2 separate regions of the Homo sapiens genome follow, and region 1 is linked to region 2. The links are contacts of gene promoters, found by promoter capture Hi-C in blood cells and fetal thymus (Javierre and others, 2016). All regions are on one chromosome and are shown on one strand. Each heading gives the region's core, a stretch centred on a gene start or on the middle of the fragment in contact. The rest is flanking DNA. Distances are from core to core; before and after follow the strand shown. Region 1 overlaps ERVK3-1 (endogenous retrovirus group K3 member 1). Region 2 holds the start of ZNF776 (zinc finger protein 776).

The links. Contacts are between HindIII fragments. The CHiCAGO score rates a contact against its expected background, and 5 or more counts as called.
Region 1: a fragment that was not itself captured here is called in contact with the fragment with the promoter of ZNF776 in region 2 in 1 of 17 cell types (neutrophils); the score reaches 6.0 in neutrophils.

The regions. Positions count from the first base shown.
Region 1 is chr19:58,307,309-58,313,489 of GRCh38, reverse strand. ERVK3-1 (endogenous retrovirus group K3 member 1) reads right to left here. Exons shown (of 4, transcript NM_001396080.1): 3 at 1,028-1,324. The coding sequence starts at 1,321. It overlaps ZNF8-ERVK3-1 (ZNF8-ERVK3-1 readthrough (NMD candidate)), which reads right to left. Exons shown (of 7, transcript NR_144447.1): 6 at 1,028-1,324. Among named protein-coding and RNA genes, the nearest start is that of ERVK3-1, 5.0 kb to the right of the region's middle. RefSeq lists a silencer at 2,493-2,787. The HindIII fragment of the contact is 5,065 bases long and covers 2,061-6,181 here.
Region 2 is chr19:57,744,797-57,751,723 of GRCh38, reverse strand. ZNF776 (zinc finger protein 776) reads right to left here and starts at 4,909. Exons shown (of 3, transcript NM_173632.4): 1 at 4,633-4,909; 2 at 813-939. The coding sequence starts at 4,665. RefSeq lists an enhancer at 4,848-4,897. The HindIII fragment of the contact is 9,325 bases long and covers 1,906-6,927 here.

The DNA of each region.
Region 1 (6,181 bases), core at 3,344-5,843, 560 kb before region 2:
GAAATCCCGTTTCTATTAAAAATACAAAAAACAAAAAATAGCCTGGCACGGTGGCGGGTGCCTGTAATCCCAGCTACTCGGGAGGCTGAGGCAGACAATTGCTTGAACCCGGGAGGCAAAGGTTGCAGTGACCCGAGATTGCGCCACTGCACTCCAGCCTGGGCGACAGAGTGAGACTCCATCTCAAACAGTTAACAACAACAACAAAAAACCCACAAACCGTAAATTGAGTGGTAATATTTTTTACAAAGGTGATATTAAAACTGTGTTGAGTAATATTACTATTGTTGGATAATGTTCTGACCCAGATGCTGTTATTCATAAATGGGAGTGTTGCCTTCCATATCGATTCCTGAATTGGGCCTCTGTTTCCTAGATGACGTCACTGAGGTAAGGGCGGGTTAAAGCCTGTCCTATACCAAGCAAGTTGTGCAGCCAACTGGGGGACTGAATCCCAGTGTGATGTGATGAAGAGGTGTTGAAGGTCCACCACCAGTGCCAGTGAAGTTTGTGCCAAGAGGTCTGATTTTCATCTCTCCCCTCTAAATGGCCACGGGGACCCCAGTCAATGTTTCCCATTAACATAGACTGTTGTCTGGCCAAGGGGCCAAGACACTGGGTCCAAGGAGGGGGGTGAGAAATATCAAAGGGAGCCCATTCCATATAATCCATACAATTTGAGTGATGGGGCTAGGAGTGATTGGTGAACACGCCAGTAACATTAATAAAGCTGAGGCCTAATAAATACATAATTTTTCCATGGTGACTTAACCATGCCTGAGATTGGACTGCAAGACAGCTGCAGTTGAGTGACGTATCCATGGTGATACATAAAGGGAGTCCTTCCAATGGGCCGGTGTAATTGATGCTATTGCTCTGTGTCAGACGGAGTTAGGGGTCCTGGTGCCCACGCTCCCTGATCATAATATATCTCAGGAGGAGTGTCGCTCCAGAGTACCAGTCGTACTACCAGTGGGTTAGGAACATATGCCCAATATGTTTTTGCCTCTACACAGGGGAAACATACCGCACAGGACACTACAGCTAGCATGGCCAAGAACATGGAGTCAGGGGTTTTTGCCTGACCCTGGCGCTCCAGTAGTTTCTCAGCTTCTTGTGTCGTTTTCTTGATCTGTCCCCATGTTATGGGGTTGGATGTCATTGTGACTCCGGTCGGCCCTTGTTCTGTCTTTGCATTCAGATTCCGCTGGCTCATGGCTCGTACTGGAGGTAACAGGCCCACGGTTGAATACCATGGATCCCTCCGGTCTCCCGTTCCATGGTCACACACACCTGGAGGGCACCCACACGGTTTGTCCATCTCCTGTAAAAACACAAGCATACCCTCGTCCCCACGTCAGCAAATCCACCGGACCTTTCCATTGTCCTTCTTCTGGGGATTTCCATAACACTTTTGGATAAACTTGCCTCTTTTCCTCTAGCAGTTGCCAGTGTCGTTCTGCTGGGGTCTTGCCATCCGTACCAGGAGTCAAACAATTTAAAGTAAACAAGGCTAAATGTAATTTTGTTTGAAGTGGTAATTGGTCCCCTATTCTCCCTTTTTGTTTTTTCAGCATGCGTTGTAGTGTTTGATGTACCCGCTCAATAATGCCTGGCCCTCAGGGATTGTATGGAATTCCTGTTTTATGATTGATTGCCCACAATTGTAAAAAATTGGGAAAGCATGACTAACATAAGCGAGTCCACTGTCAGTTTTAAATTGTTTAGGGACCCCCATATGGGCAAATGACGACAGACAGTATCGTCAGACATGACCAGCTGTTTCCCCAGTTTGGCATGTGGCATGTAACATATGGGAGTAAGTGTCTATATTACATGAACATAGCGGAGTTAGCCAAAGGCTGCTATATATATGTAACATCCATCTGCCAGATTTCATTTGGAGCCAAGCCTCGTGGGTTGCATCCTTCCACAGGTGCAACACCAGGGACATGCTGGCAAGTGGGGCAGGCTTGCACAATAACTCAAGCCTGGCTGCGAGGCAGATGAAACATACGAGTAAGGGCAAGTTGTTCTGATGCAGTAAAGCATGGGAAGCTTGGGCTTGTTGAAATATAGAACTGATGAATTTATCTGCTCTATCATTACCTAGAGATAGTGGCCCCAGGAAGTTGTGTGTGAGATCGGATATGAGAAATATGAAAAGGGGCAGCATGAGAGCGAACAGCTTTTTGGAGTCTCAGAAATAGGTTAAGCAGTTCTGGTTTTAAGGTGCTCTTGTGTGGGCGGCAAGCCATCCAGGCGCCGAAGCAAGAGACAGAGGACACGGGCTGTTCCAGTATAATAAAATATAAAACAAGAATAGTTATACCAGATATAGATCTTAGATATGATTATATATGAATATCATTAATCATTAGTTTGTAGCAATTACTTTTTATTCCAATATTACAATAATCCTTGCTCTATAATCATAGCCTAGGAAAAACCAGGCCATACAGAGATAGGAGCTGAGGGGACATAGTGAGGTGTGACCAGAAGACAAGAGTGCGAGCCTTCTGTTATGCCCAGACAGGGCCACCAGAGGGCTCCTTGGTCTAGTGGTGACGCCAGCGTTTGGGAAGACCGTGGTCTAGCGGTAGCGAAAAGTGTCAAGGAACAACACCCGCTACTTAGCAGACCGGGAAAGGGTGGGGGGCGGTCTCCCTTTCCCTGGGGGAGGTTAGAGAAGACTCTGCTCCTCCACCTCTTGTGGAGGGCCTGACATTAGTCAGGCTCGCCCACAGTTATCCGGAGGCCTAACCGTCTCCCTGTGATTCTGTGCTTCAGTGGTCACGCTCCTAGTCCGCCTTCATGTTCCATCCTGTACACCTGGCTCTGCCTTCTAGATAGCAGTAGTAAATTAGTGAAAGTACTAATAGTCCCTGATATGCAGAAATAATGGCGTAAGCTGTCTTTCTCTCTGTCTCCTCTCCCTCTCTGCCTCGGCTGCCAGGCAGGGAAGGGCCCCCTGACCAGTGGACACATGACCCACGTGACCTTACCTATCATTGGAGATGACTCACACTCTTTACCCTGCCCCTTTTGCTTTGTATCCAATAAATAAGAGCGCAGCCAGACATTCGGGGCCACTACCGGTCTCCGCGCATTGGTGGTAGTGGTCCCCCAGGCCCAGCTGCCTTTTATCTCTTTGTCTTGTGTCTTTATTTCTACACTCTCTCGTCGCCGCACACAGGGAGAGACCCACCGACCCTGTGGGGCTGGTCCGTACACTCTTGATAGTGGCAGTTTTAATGCAACTAGCTACATTTACGACATAGGCTGAATTACAGACAATATTAATAGGAAATAAAGCTGTGAGCTTTAAAACTTGAATAACTGCCATTAATTCAGAGTGTTGAGCTGAAACTCTAGGGGTCTTTATTATTTAAGTATATTTAGGTCCATAAATGGCTGTGTGGCTTTTGGAAGAGCCATCGGTAAAATAGGTCTGTCCACCTGAAATGGGTTTGTGATGAGCAATCACAGGGGGAATAAAAGGGTGAATTTTATAAAACTGCAAAATTTTGTCTGATGGATAATGGTTATCTATTATTTCTACAAAATCTGCGAAAGTGATTTGCCATGCAGTGGACATCTCCCAGGCCGCAGCCTGTTGTTGGGAATCCAAGGTAACAATAATTTTATCAGGATCATATCCTGTAAGCATTTTTGATCTATGCCTGCCTATTGTTATAAGTTGTGTGACTAAAGCAAGATAAACTTGCAAAGATTTTACTGTTTGACTGGATAAAAAAAGCCATTCTATTACCATTATAGTTTTGTCTATGAATTGAGCTAAAAGTCCTGATGGAGAATGGGGGGTAGGAAGAATAAACAAAACCAAAGACTTTTGTGGTTGTAGCCAGGAGGCATGTCGTTGCTGAAGCATCTTTCTACAAGCTGTAATTCAGCTTCTGCCTCCTTAGTAAGTTGCCGAGGGGAATCTAATGAAGAATCTCCTTGGAGGGTTTGATAAACATGAGTGAGTTGATAAGAAGCAATACCTAGCATTGGGCGCAGCCAATTAATATCCCCTAAGTTATTCAGAGTTTGTAATTTGTTCTTACGAAGAGCTACTTTCTGAGGCTGAATACTTTTTTCAGTAACAGTAGTATCTAAGTATTGGTATGAGGAGGTTGTTTGTACCTTTTCAGGAGCTATTTTGAGATTCCATTTAGTTAAAGCCCATTTTATTTCTCTGAATAACTGGTATAATACTTGATCTGTAGGAGTGGCCAAAACAATATTATCCATATAATGAATGATGTAGGTGGTGGAAAACATATTCCGAGGCTCCTTCAATGCTTTTCCTACAAAATGCTGACATAACGTAGGACTGTTGAGCATGCCTGGGGTAATAAAACTTTTCATTGATCACAAGAGACAGGCTCTCTCTGATTAATAGAAGGCACAGAGAAGGCGAATTGAGGCTTGTCCTTCTTGTGTAATGGTATAGTGAAAAAACAGTCTTTAAGATCTATTACTACAAGAGGCTAATCTCTTGGAATGGTTGCCGGGGATGGCAGACCTTGCTGTAATGCACCCACTGGTTTAATTTGTGCATTAACAGCTCTCAAATTATGCAGCAGTTGCCATTTTCCTGACGTTTTGGGGGTCACAAATACTGGTGAATTCCAAGCACTAACTGATACTTTTATATGTCCTGCATCCAATTGCTTTCTTACCAGCTGATGGAGTTGAGTCAGTTTTCTCCTGTGATAGGGGCCATTGATCCACCCACACAGGTTTATCAGTCAGCCACTCTAGCAGCAAGGCAGTGGGTGGAGAAGAAGTATCAATGACCCCTATCAGAAATCCTGATGACCTAGCCCTTTCCTATCTGTTTGCCCAGTTACCGATACCGGACCGGGGTTTCCCTGTAGGAACTTTCCCAAGCCTTTCCCACTCTGATATCCCATTTCCTTCAATATTTTAAATCCTGGATTATCAACCTTTTCATTTGTAAGTCTCACATCCCATGCTGTAAGTAAATCTCAGCCCCAGAGATTAACACGTATATTTGCAACATAAGGTTGAAAAGTACATGGCTGTCCATCTGGACTGACACAAAGTAAAATTTCAGCACTCTGTTAAACACTTTGAGCTGTTCCTACTCCCACTAAGGATGCAGAGGTTAGTAGCAGGGGCCAATTGTTTTTGGATATTACTGAAACATCTGCTCCTGTGTCCATACACCCACAACACTTCTTTCCTTTAATTTGCACTGCACAGGTGGGTCAATTAGAAGCTATGGGTTGGGATAGGTAAATTTCCTGTGTAGTTGTACTCCCAAATTCTTGATTTCCTCTTTTCTCCTTTCGTGAAGAAGGGTGTAATTTGCAGAGAATAATAATAAGCAATAGCTGAGCAATATATTTCCCAGGTTTAAAAACCCAAAGATCTTGTGACATTACAATTACTTGAATTTCTCCTTCATAATCAGAGTCAACAATCCAGGGATCACAGTAATGCCCTGTAAGTTCAGATGGCTTTGGCCTAAAATTAATCCTGTATATCCTGTTGGCAAAGGTTCCCAAATGCCTGTGGGAATTCTGGTGGGTTTGTCTCCTCCAACTAACGTGACCCATTCTCTGACTGAGCGATCTAATCCTGCACTCCCCGGTGTTCCAGAGGAGAGGGAGTCAATGTTCCTCCAGGAACCCACCCCTGTAGCAGGGTTGTGGCCTGGATGGGGAATGCCCTCATTGTTTGAGGGGCCCAGGCCCCATTCTCATTTCCTGAGAGCGGGGTGCCATTCTGATGAAATTTTGAGCAACACTGATTAGCCCAATGATTTCCTTTATTACGGCGAGGGCAAAGTCCTGGTGTTTTTTTTTCTGTGTGTGTGTGTTGGGGGGAGCGGGGCGGGGAGGGGGGGGCGGTATTGCATTGTAAGATCCCTTCTGCCCAGAGGTCTGATGGTATTCTTTTTTGAAATGTCCAATTTTTCCACAATTATAACATTTTCCCACTTTAGGGCTCAACCCTTGGCCCTTTTCAGATTTGTTCACTACTAAATTAGCTATTACTTGAGCTAACACAGTTGAACGATGGAGTTCAGTTCCCACATCCTGACAGGCTTTGAGAAAATTTCCCAAGCTGTTTGTACATCTCACGGGTGCTAATGCACATTTACAATCTGCATTTGCATTTTCAAAAGCTAGGGTCAAAGTAAGCA
Region 2 (6,927 bases), core at 3,660-6,159:
AGCCTGGATGACAGTGAAACCCTGTCTGAAAAAAAAAAAAACAAAAAAGCAAAAAATACTCAGGGCACACTGGCTCATGCTTGTAATCCCAGCACTTTGGGAGGATGAGGTGGGAGGATCACGTGAGGTTGGGAGTCAGAGACCAGCCTGGGCAATACAGCCAGACCTCATCTCTATTAAAAATAAAAATAAAAATTAGTGGGATGTGATGGCAGAAGCCTCTAGTCCGAGTTACTCTAGAGGCTGAGGAAGGAGGATTGCTTGAGCCTGGGAGATTGAGGCTACAGTGAGCTATGACTGCAGCACTGCACTCCAGCCTGGGTGACAGAGTTAAGACTTTGAAAACAAAACAGAACAAAACAAAACAAACAAGATAATTTATAAGGAGGGTCTTGCAAGAACAACCTATGGTGCATGTAAGTATTGAGAACATCAGTGATGGGAGGAATTCCTAGCACAGGCAGTCATGAATAAATGTCACCTAGAGCAAGGAAGTAGAACCTGTGCATACCAGTCTCTGATCTAGAAAAATTACTCAACAGCCAGAGGGCAAGCAAGGTGGGATGCATTATGGTGCCTGTAAAGCTCCTTCTCTGGGAGCTTGCAGCAAAGCAGGTGTTGGGGCTGCTCAAGGAGAGAGAGGGCAGTGCACACACCTCAGTCCTACATACCACATAGAACCTACCCAGGGAACTAACAGAGGAACCTGTGCCCAGGCTCCTGAAGTGAGGAAAACAGTCTTGCCATGGGGAAAAAAGATGGGGACAGACAGACAATAGCTGAGGTCATAGAGAAGAGTGTGAGTGCCTTACCTAGAGAAGATATAAGTGTCAGGTTCTCCAGCATCACGTCATGATAAAGGCATCTCTGAGCCTCACTAAGGAGACTCCATTCCTCCTGGGAAAAGTTCACAGCCACATCTTCAAAGGTCACAGTGCCCTGCCGTGATGATGACAGATGAAACCACAAACACTCCATATGCTCATCCACTTATCCACCCTTGCCCTTCCTCCTCCCAAGGTCCTAAACTACAAGGAGAAACTAGGCCCACTGGTGTCACTATCTTCTCATGGGCTCACTGGTCATGGTGTACAGCCATCAGCCACAAGAAGTGGGTGAAACAATAGATTTCTATGTTTTGGTGCTGATATAAAGCGGTCCATAACTTCCTGATAGCCAATGCCCCTGGTAGAGATGAAGTCATGTAAATCCCAATGCAGCATCCTCAGTCTATCAGACATACTCCTTCTCTAAATACACATCATTCCTTTTTTTTGCTTTTTTTTTTTTTGAGATAGGGTTTCACTCCTGTTGCCCAGGCTGGAGTGCAATGACATAATCTCAGCTCTCTGCAACCTCTGTCTACTGGGCTCGAGTAATTCTCTGGCCTTAGCCTCCCGAGTAGATGGGATACAGGTGCATGCCACCGTGCCGGCTAATTTTTTTTTTTTTTTGTATTTTTGGTAGAGAGAAGGTTTCACTATGTTGCCCAGGTTAGTCTCGAAATCCTGAGCTCAAGTGATTCACCCACCTCAGCCTCCCAATGTGCTGGGATTACAGGCATGAGCCACTGTGCTAGGCCAAAATACACATCATTCTTTAGACTGCACAGACACATGCCCATGGCCACCCCCACTAAACTGCCTCCCACATTGGCCTCTGCCTCCCCACAAGTTAAAGTATGTTTATACCCTCTTCTTCCTTCTACCAGTAAGGGTGAGATTTTCACCTTACAGTTATATTAATGACCAAACACATGACATCAAACACTAGACAGGTGCTATAAATATGTTTAAAAATCAAATACACTCAAAGTCTAGAAGAGGACATCCCTCATCATGAAGGACCACATAGGGGTTGCACTATGGATAAGAGTGCATAACCAGAAACTATGATATGCAAGCTTTTAAAATGAAGAGGGTGTGATGACCCCCGAATCCCTTAGGAGGATGCAACTGGCTTGTTTGAATAACACTGTGGGTAAGGATAAAATTGAAACTCACTACAAAGTATAATAACCAGGAATTCTGCCTGGTCTCCCTAATAAAAGGATTATTAGGCCATGCTGATTATTATCTAAAAGAGCCTAGTGGGAAGGGAATTGGTTCTCAGGTCATTTGAGGTCATACCAATATCACTAGATGTCAAGGTGACACATCATATTGGGCCTCCATTTTTGGCTTTATACCACAATATGGCTGACAGCATCCAATATGCTTCACATATTCAAACAGGATCCAATAATAACACAAAATGACCATGGTTCCCATTAGCAGTGGTAGTCCCTAATAATTCTATGAATGCCTCCTTGCATTACTCCACATCCATGCAAAACCACATGTAACTTCAGATATCCATGGTCTTATTCCACTTCTGTGCTACAATGGCTTACCCTTCAGCAACACGGACCAACTTCCATTCACCTAATACCATTGCCATTTAAAGAGCAGTCCTGGATGGGCATGGTGGTTCACACCTGTAATCCTAGCACTTTGGGAGGCTGAGGCAGGTGGATCATGAGGTCAGGAGTTCGAGACCAGCCTGGCCAATATGGTGAAATCACATCTCTACTAAAAATACAAAAAAAAATTAGTGGGGCGTGGTGGCACGCAACTGTATTCTCAGCTACCGGGAGGCTGAGGCAGGAGAATCACTTGAACCTGGGAGGTGGAGGTTGTAATGAGCCAAGATTGCGCCACTATACACCAGTACACCAGCCTGGGCGACAGAGTGAGACACCGTCTCAAAAAAAAAAAAAGTCCTGTTTTTAATCCATTTAAGGCCCAAGACCTACTGTCACAGATGACCATATTTCTCCCTGAGCATATTCAGCACGTGTAATGAAACCCCCCACACACTACCAAAGTCATCTCAAATCTTGATTGCACAGAGTGGTGAATAAGTACCACTCTGGCCTAAGTGTCATCTTCCCTCAATTTGACTACACTTCTGCATATATCTATTTCATGTCTATTCTCTCCTTGAAAGTCTATGTCCCCTGTCAAATTATGCTGACAGGTATACCCTACCATCATGGTCACTTACCTACCTCTCCAGTGTTTAGGAAGCCCAGTAACATTACCCAGGGACCCAAGCAACAGATGCAGTCCTCATCATTCAACCACTGCTTTCTGGTCCCCTAAAAGATTTACCACCAGAATCTGAAGTGTGTTCTCCTTAATGTGACCCATGGCTCACTCACCATAGCATACACATTAGCTACCATATATTAGATGTCTCCAGTGTCAATCCCTTTCCAGATACCCCAACCTGCATGTCCATAGCCATTTGATGCCTACACTTATTCGTCTCTGACTCTTCATATGGCCATAACAGTCATCCTGATATTTGCATAATATTCTAATTATGTTTATTACCAACATGCTCATCTCAGCTGATGCAGCTTCCATAGCTACAGCTACTAAGACCAAAAACCTCGGGATCCTGATTGCTCTCTTCATGCCCTTACTTTGTGTATTAGGAAACCTAGATGCTGTAACAAAATATCAACTTTGAATCCAGCCACATCTCCTTAGCCATGAATCTTAGTCTGTTAACCCTCACTTGGATTACGGCAAAAGCCTCAACTCTCATCTTATTTCCTCCTCTCTCAACCCCACAGTCTGTTCTCCACTGTACAGCCAGAGGAGACTACAGCCAGATGAAACTGTGGCAACATCACCTCCTCCCTCTGGTCAGTTTCACCTCTAAGCATTTCACATCCTGGTACTAACTCCTGGGTTAACCTTCCAAGTATGTTTATACTGGTTGACAGAAATGGGAATACCTCCATATATCCTGTGTCACAGACTTTGGATCCTGGGTTTAAGGTTCCTCCAGGGTTCCCATATCAAAAAACTTAAAAAAAAAAAAAAAAAGGTACCTAAGAATCCCAGGACATCCCAATCTAAAGAGCATGTGGATAGGAGTTAGGGCCAGTGAGGGAATAACACCCTCCGCTTCCCTGCGGAGGTTCTGCAAGTGCTTCTGCAGCCAGGAGTTCCTGAGAGGAGAGGCACAAGCTACAAGAATGTATCCCTGATGAGATTTGATAAGCTCAGGCCTCCCTGAACTCTTTCTTGGCCCTGTAACTAGGTAAACGCGAGTTGGTTGTCTGAACTGAGCGCCTCAGTACAAAATGTCATCTCTTAGCACCTATCTGATCTGTAGAGGTTGAACAAGAATTCAACCTCCCAGGGCCCAAAAGTCATCCCCTGTGTTCTTTTTCGACTGGACTTTGGGAAACCTTTAAAGCCTGGACATTGATCTTTTCCTTCCTTTGTTGGAAGCTGTCCATGGCTTCCAGCGTTCTCAGGGTGAATACACGGTCCTCAGCCTGCTCTTCCAGGAGGAGCTCTGCCTCACACTTTGCTCCCGACAGGTGCCTGTGGACCCTAGGTTACGATCCTCTCGGCTCAGTTCATCTCCAGGCCTTTGCCTGCACCGCTCCCTGTGCCTGTAGCTCTCCTGAGCGCATCCCGCGGGTGTCAAAAACGGGGGCCCATAGAGAGCGCCTCAGTGTCCCGACGCCGGGTTCAGGGTGTAAAACCTTGAGCAGGCGCCGCTTCCTCTCTGCTTTTGGACTTAGGTAAAGATGAGGTGACCTGAGGGCACGGAAGACGCCACAATTACCTGAGCCGGGGGCCTCAGCGCGGCCGCCGCCATCCGACTGGGTGGGGAAAGCGGGGTCGAAAGGAGGGGGCGAGCAGTGCAGGTACCCGGGCACGGTGGTCCCGATCCCGGCCTTGGTGCGGGTCACGCCTAGCGCCTTTAAGGAGCTGCAGAGCAGCCTCTGTGCAGTCGGGACAACGTCTCGTCTCCACCTTCTGGGTTCAGTCACTTCTACACGACCCAACACTCCGCGGTCTCTCACTGGAAAATACACCCAACACCAATCAAAATGGCCACTAGTAGAGGACGCCGGAAGTCCCACCTTTATACTGTTTCCGCGGAAACGCCTTTATTTTGAGCCCTCATTGGCTCTGACGCGCTGTCATTCGACGCAGAGATTTCTGGGTTATGTAGTTTCCTCAGGTTCCAAGACAGTTCCAAGGCGGTAAAGAAGGCCTTCTCAGAGGCGCTTGATTGCACAGAGTGGTGAATAAACACTACTCTGGCCTAAGTGTCATCTTCCCTCAATTTGACTATACTTCTGCATGTATCTATTTCATGTCTATTTTCTCCTTGAAAGTCTATATCCCCTGTCAAACTATGCTGTCAGGTATACCCTACCATCACGTTCACTTACTTGCAGGAAAGGCCCAGCTCCATCTCAGCGGCCTGTCCTTAAAGTGCATGTCCTTCTAGGGTAGAGGATAGTCTCACCTAGCCTTAGAACCCGTATTGAGATTTTTGGAGATTAGTGTCTGTAACTGATCACTCAAGTATTTGAAAAAATATTATTTTAGATTTTGGGGAACTCGAGCTCTCCGATGCTAAACTTATTATTTAGGATGCCCCCAAAGACTAAAAATCCAAATTATCATAACGTTTTGAACAGTCTTTCAGTCGCAAAATCCCGGTACTGGCAGCAGAGGCTGATAAACATTATTGTGTTATAAATTCACATGAATGCACTCTGAGGCATTAGAGTCAGTTTCTCAGTCTGTCAGGGACAAGAGAGAACTAATCCAGATAGGACAAGACAAGGAAGATAGAGGAGAAATGTTGTGTTCCCTAAAGCAGGAATACATGCTGAATCTCTGTCTGTGATTCCCACAGAAGACAACTCTCCTGCCTATAAAATCAATCATAGTGTCCAGTACATTGAGCAACACTTTTATCCACTTAGTATCCCTCGCTTGAGATTCCAACTTATATTCAATTAATTCTGGATTAATTTATCTAAGATTTATCAATCTTACAGGAAGACCAATGAAAGAAATGCTATTTTGGTAGTGATAAATGGCTGCAGTTTTCAAAGGTGGGGCACGTATGCAGAAGATGCTCTCCACCTGTTGATATTGGTTGTGTCTTAAATCCAGGAGTTCATGTTATTGCTGGGAAGTGGCTATTTTTTTTTTTTTGTATTAGATAAAACAGACTTTATTTATTTCTTTTCTTTTTTTTTTTTTGTGACTATTCTTTATTTCTGTTTCCATGGCAAGGAGTGTTTTGCCTAATAAATTAATGTTATGGATGGGATTACAGGCATGAGCCACCATACCTGGCTAATTTTGTATTTTTAGTAGAGACGGGGTTTCTCCATGTTGGTCAGGCTGGTCTCGAACTCTCAACCTCAGGTGATCCACCTGTCTCGGCCTCCCAAAGTGCTGGGATTAAAGGCATGAGCCACTGTACCCAGCCGCTCAGTTCTTAAAAAACCTATGTCTTCTATGTTCAGGGAGAAGAGGCATTTAGAGCAAGAGCTTACTCATTCTCCATTTCTGCTCAGAAATAAAACTTGCTTGCCTTTTTTTTTTTTTTTCCCAAATTGGGTGTTCTTTTTTTTGTGACCAATACAAAGTAGGGAAAGAACTCAGTTTATTGGTAGTACAACTTAAAAAAAAAAAAGCATGTTTAACATTCCAACTTTCATAGTCCTGTCAACTTTTACTTTATGTTGTAGTCCCAGGACTCTTCTCTCCAGACCATTTTACCCTTTCTTGTGCAGATGTCTTCAGGTTTCCACCCAGGGTTCAGGCCAGGAGACTTTGGCCTTTTTTCCAAGTGCTACCTTGATTAACCAGTCTAACCATCACCCTAGGCATTCCAGGTGGGGTTTCTCATTATATCTTTACCTTCTGGCTTTTAAAATTTATCCAAACTTCAGGAACTACAGCAACTTAGCTTAAGGCCCTTTAATGTTGGGGGATCAACAGGAACTTCCTTTGGTCCACCCAACCTTCAATAGTGTTATATTCAGAATTTTGTTTTAATCCGATCAGTTTTTATTTTATTCATCTAATTTCCATCTAATAGCCATCT